Linked DNA regions of Homo sapiens: region 2 is linked to region 1. The links are contacts of gene promoters, found by promoter capture Hi-C in blood cells and fetal thymus (Javierre and others, 2016). All regions are on one chromosome and are shown on one strand. The core of a region is centred on a gene start or on the middle of the fragment in contact, and the rest is flanking DNA. Distances in the headings are between cores, read along the strand shown. Region 1 holds the start of UBTF (upstream binding transcription factor). Region 2 overlaps CCDC43 (coiled-coil domain containing 43).

The links. The method cuts DNA at HindIII sites, captures the fragments that hold promoters and counts their contacts. A CHiCAGO score of 5 or more calls a contact.
Region 2: a contact is called between a fragment that was not itself captured here and the fragment with the promoter of UBTF in region 1, in 1 of 17 cell types (M2 macrophages). The highest score is 5.2, in M2 macrophages.

Annotation. Positions count from the first base shown.
Region 1 is chr17:44,218,419-44,220,927 of GRCh38, reverse strand. UBTF (upstream binding transcription factor) reads left to right here and starts at 1,253. Exons shown (of 21, transcript NM_014233.4): 1 at 1,253-1,483. The region is part of intron 1 of ATXN7L3-AS1 (ATXN7L3 antisense RNA 1); the gene reads right to left. RefSeq lists silencers at 1-36, 547-1,236, 1,363-1,527, 1,287-2,306, 2,357-2,509. The HindIII fragment of the contact is 14,974 bases long and covers 1-2,509 here.
Region 2 is chr17:44,687,020-44,689,528 of GRCh38, reverse strand. The region is part of intron 1 of CCDC43 (coiled-coil domain containing 43); the gene reads left to right. LOC105371792 (a long non-coding RNA gene) reads right to left here. Exons shown (of 4, transcript XR_007065769.1): 2 at 1,506-1,675; 3 at 1,236-1,351; 4 at 516-588. Among named protein-coding and RNA genes, the nearest start is that of CCDC43, 1.5 kb to the left of the region's middle. RefSeq lists an enhancer at 1-20. The HindIII fragment of the contact is 825 bases long and covers 841-1,665 here.

The DNA.
Region 1 (2,509 bases), core at 4-2,503:
GGCGGGCGGAGCGGGGCGGGCGGAGCGCGGCGCGTGGGGCTCGCCATTAGCCGTCGCTCCGCTTCGCCATCTCGGGCTTTGTCTGGCGACTCGCTGCCCCGGCGTCGGCTGCAGCGGAGCTGCGGCTCGACTGTTCGGCCCGCCGTGCTCCCAGGTGCCCCCGGCCTGCGCTCCCATCCACACGCTCGGTAAGTGAGCCCGGGAGCCGCGGATTTCGGGGGAGAGGGGTTGCTACGAGTGGCGGCGGCGCCGATCTTCATGCGCCCGGGCAGGCCTGGAGAACCATGCCGGGCTGGATTGAACCGGCTCCCACAGCGGCCCCTCCGCCGGAGCCCGTCGTTCCCTTGCCGTTTCCGGGGTGTAAAGAGCAACGGGGATTTTTTTTTTTTAATGCAGAGGTTTTAGTTTTCGGGTTTTTTTTTAAGTTTCGTATGTGCCGTTCGGCAAGGAGAGGACCGCGAGGTAGGCACCGAAGCTGGACGCCGCGATCGGCGTGCGTGCGCCCCAAACCAGCGGCCACGCTCCGGGGGATGAGGGTGGGCGCGGACCGCTCGCTCCGGGAGGCGGGAGAGAGCTGGCCTGGAAGCCCTAGTCTGAGCTGGGAGAACTTGGGGGAGAGCTCCGGAGCAGGGCTGTGGGCGCCCCCCGAGCCTCCCCGGACGCCGGGGGCACCTCCGGGCACCCTCTCCGCGGCCGCACCTCGGCCCTCCCTCGCCGGCGAAGCCTGCTAGTTCCCCCGCGGGTCTGGCGAGGTCGCTCTCGGCGCCCGCCCGCCCGCCTAGGCTCCGAGCCCCGCCGCCATCCGGGCGGCTGCGTGTCTCCCTGCCCCGGCCCCCCCCCCCTTCCCCGGCGGCGGCAGCAGCAGCAGCAGCAGCCGCCGCCGCCGCCAGCACCACCACCACCACCCCCCTCCCCTCCTTCCTTCCCTCCGCCTCGGCCGCCCGGGTCCCCCCAGCTCCCGCCCCTCCTCCCAGCTGCCCCCCGCGGAGCCCGCCCGGGCAGGCTGTGGGAGGGAGCGGAGCCGGCGAGGCGGGCGGGCTGGCGCTCGCTCCCCGGGGGTCGGTGTGCGCTCTACGGGGAAGGACGCGCTCGCTGCCCCGCTTCTCCCGCCCCCCCTCCCGCTCCTCCTCCTCCCTTCTCCCTCCTCCTCCCCGCTCCGGCGGCTGAGGCTGCGGCGGCGGCGGGGGGTGTGCGAGCTGAGGCCGGGGCCGGCGGCGGGCGGGCTGCCTGCAGGCGGAGGGCGCTGTGCTTTGTGCTTTTCGCCGCGAGGAGCAGCAGGCAGCAGCCACAGCCGCCGCCGCCGCCGCCGCCGCCACAGCAGCAGCAGCCGCCGCCCCAGCGCCGCCGCCTCGCCCGGAGGAGGAGCCGCTGCCGCCGCGGGAGGGAGCTGCGGCTGTGCCCGGCCGAGCGGGGGAGGGCGCCGCCACTCAGAGCCAGGGAGGGAGCCGCTGGAGCGGGAAGCCCGGAGGCCGCGCTGCGCCGGGTAACCGAGGCGGCTGAGGACGCGCGCTGGGGTCGGGGCCGGACGGCGGGAGCGAACCGCGGGGTGCGGTGGGCGCCCAGCGGGGACCCGAAGCGACCACCGAGCAGGCGACCGGGCGCGAGCAGACCAGGGCACTTGGGAGGACGCCGAGAGCCGGGGGAGGGGAAGGCAGGAAGCGAGGCCTGAGCCGAGCCCCGGCCGCTGGCGGAGGAGCCCGCGCTTCTCGGAGCCGGCAGGCGCAGTTCTCCCCGGCCGCCGGAGGGGGCGGCGGGGCCGGTGAGCGCTGCGCCCCCGCCTCCCGGCCGCCGTCCTCCCGCCCTCTCCTTGGCTCGGCTCCCCGGAGGCCGGGGCGGGGGCGCCGGCGGGGCTGGGCCGCAGGCTCGGGGGAGGAGGCGGCGGTTCCCGCCGCGGTCGCGCCTCTGTGCCGGGCTCCTCCGTGCGCGTCGGGGTGGCTGGGCGGTGGCGGCGCCTCTGGCCGGGGTGGGTGGCTCGGGGGCGGGGGGCAGGCTAGGCCGCTTCTCTCCGGCTGCTTGCCCGCCTGTGCGGGCGGGGACGGCGAAGGGAGCCCGGGAGGGGGGAGCGGCGGGAATCCGGATCCGGTCCCCGGGGGCGGTGCGGCCGCTCCGCTCCGGGGCTGGCGGCGGCTGCGCTGCGTCCGGGTCCCCGCCGGGTTGCGGAGGCGGGGGGAACCGGCCGGGGGGAGGCGGGAGGAGGAGACTGGGGCGCGTGCCCGCTTCCGTGGCCGCGCGCGCCCTTTACCCGCCCTTCCTCTTCCCCCGCCCTCCAGCCTGGGGCCTCCCCGGGGCGGGCGCTCCGAGGAGGAGGAGATTTTTTCTTTTTTTTTTTTTTTGGCTGGGGTTGGGAAGCGGGGCGGAGGGCGGGCGCTCGCTGCACGCGGGAGCTAGGAGCAGGCCCTCGCGTGGCCAGGGGAGGGCGCGCGCCGCGGAGCCGGGCTGCAGGGGCTGGGGGAGGGGGTCACGAGGAAGAGGAGGGGCGCACTCCCATTCCCATAGACCCCTTAAGTCT
Region 2 (2,509 bases), core at 4-2,503, 470 kb before region 1:
CTTCAGCCTCTGGCCAGCATCTGAGGACCTGTCAGTACTTTGCACCCTCCCTCCCCTACCGGGTATCCCAGAGGCTCAGTGGTCTCACCTGGGAGAGGTATACTCCTCTGATATCTGGGCGGCGGGGGAAGGAGGTTGCTCCCCAACCAGGTGTGGGAAGCCTGAAAGCTGCAGGTACACAGAGAGGAAGGGCTTTCTCGTATTCTTGGGGACAAGGCCCTCTCCGATGCTTGTGAGTGAGCCGAGGAGGGTTCTTCCGAAGGCATTGAAATGTCAGAATGGGAATGTTATCATAAATATCTGACGACCAATTCCATTTCCATCCGTTTACAGTGTTCACTGGGGGTATTAAAATGCTCTTGGGAGGTCTGTGCCTATTACAAGGCAGTTCCCAGGGCTGTCCCATGACAGAAGCCTGCAGGAAGTGCCCTTTTGATTCTTATATGGATGTAGGAGTCCATAAAAGGTAAGCTGGTGGTAGAAGTCTTTTCATGCCCACGCAGAACTGAAGCAAACGTCGTGCTTGATCCATTACAGTATTTACAGTAATCATTGGTGGTGGGAAGGAGGGTATGAGAGAGATCAGAGCTTTAACGAAGAGAGAGAAACTTAGTCCTTAGCCTGTTAGAAGCAAGGTATTCAGAAATGTGTACTTTAAGCTATGTTTACATAGTAAGTCACCCAGATGTCCACTTTTTCAACCTGATCATTTCTGCTGCCTTCATCTTCACTTCCCACACCTCCAACATACACACTTATTAGACTGGTTATTACAGATTAAATTGGTTGTAGGTGCTACCTGTGGCTGTCTAACAAATTGTTTCCTTTTAAATACAAGCTTAAAAATAAAATTTACTTGAATCATCACTAAATGCTGTAGAAGCTAGAGTTGTCTCTGCATTCATGGATTAGAGGAGATCCTGGATACCTGATTGCTACTGTGAGAGCCACCTGTCTGTCCATCAAAGGCTTTATCCTCTGGCATTTATTACAATGGACAGGTTAGAAAAATGGGTTCTTTGTTATTCTCAAAACCAATTTTGAAAGGCTAGTAATAGAATCAAAATGTACCATGAGGTGGGGCACAGTGGCTCATGTTTGTAATCTCACCACTTTGGGAGGCTGAGGTGGGAGGATTGCTTGAGGCCAAGAGTTCCACACCACACTGGGCAACATAGCAAGACCCTGTCTCTACAAAAAAATTTAAAAAATTAGCCAGGTATGGTGGCGCATACCTGTAGTCCCAGCTACTCAGAAGTCTGAAGTGGGAGGATCACTTGAGCCTAGGAGGCTGTGGCTGCAGTGAGCCGTGATTGTGCCACTGCACTCCAGCTTGGGTGACAGAGTGACCCTGTCTCAAAGAAAAAAAAATTAGTATAAATATATATAGATATAAATGTACATATTCATATCTCATTTTTTTAAAAGGGTAGAAGGCAGAAACATTTTCAAATCCAAAAGTGTTTTGTGAAAGCGGAAACAAGTGCTAGGAAAAAATCACTCACATTTGGTGGAAGCAGTTCATAGATTGGGTACATGGTTGAAATATAACACTAGTGCAGCTGTCCCAGATTCTTCTGGCAGTAACCCATTTGAGTTCCAGAGCCTCTTCTGGCAAGATTGGCTTATAAATGGGAAAACTTTAACACAGCCTGTGAGGAAGCTTGGAAGTTCACTGGAAATACAAGACAGTGGAATCAATTCTTTTTTTGGACCACAACATTACAGATTATAGGGAGAAAGAGTAGGAGGCAAGCAATTTAAGGTAGTTTTTATTTACAGCTGGGAAGTTTCTAAACACTCCATGAAGCTGTTGAAATAACTTTGAGACTTCTTGGTACCAGCTTCTTGATCAGTCCATCATTATTTGGAGCTGTTTCTGTTGATAAAGGTAGACATTAGTTTGCCTTTTTTTTTTTTTAAGAGAGTCTCGCTCTGTTATAGTAATGTGATCATAACTCACTGTAGCCTTGAACGACTGGACTCAAGCAATCCCCTCTCATCAGCCTCCCAAGTAGCTAGGACTACAGGCACCTGCCATCACATATCATGCCTGGCTAACTTTTTTTTTTATGTTTTATGTTTTATTTTTTGAGACAAAGTCTCACTCTGTCACCCAGGCTGGAGTGCAGTAGCAAAATCTCGGCTCACTGTAACCTCTGCCTCCTGGGTTCAGGTGATTCTCAGCCTCCCGAGTAGCTGGGATTACAGGCATATGCCACCATGCCTGGCTAATTTTTATATTTTTAGTAGAGATGGGGTTTCACCATGTTGACCAGGCTGGTCTCAAACTCCTGACCTCAAGTGATCCACCCATCTCAGTCTCTCAAAGTGCTGGGGCTATAGGCGTGAGCCACCACACCCAGCCATGCCTGGCTAATTAAAAAAAAAAAATTTTTTTTTGTAGAGACAGGGTTTTGCCATGTTGCTCAGGGTGGTCTTATGCTCCTGGGCTCAAGACATCCTCCTGCCTTGGCCTCCCAAAGTGCTGAGATTACAGATGTGAGCC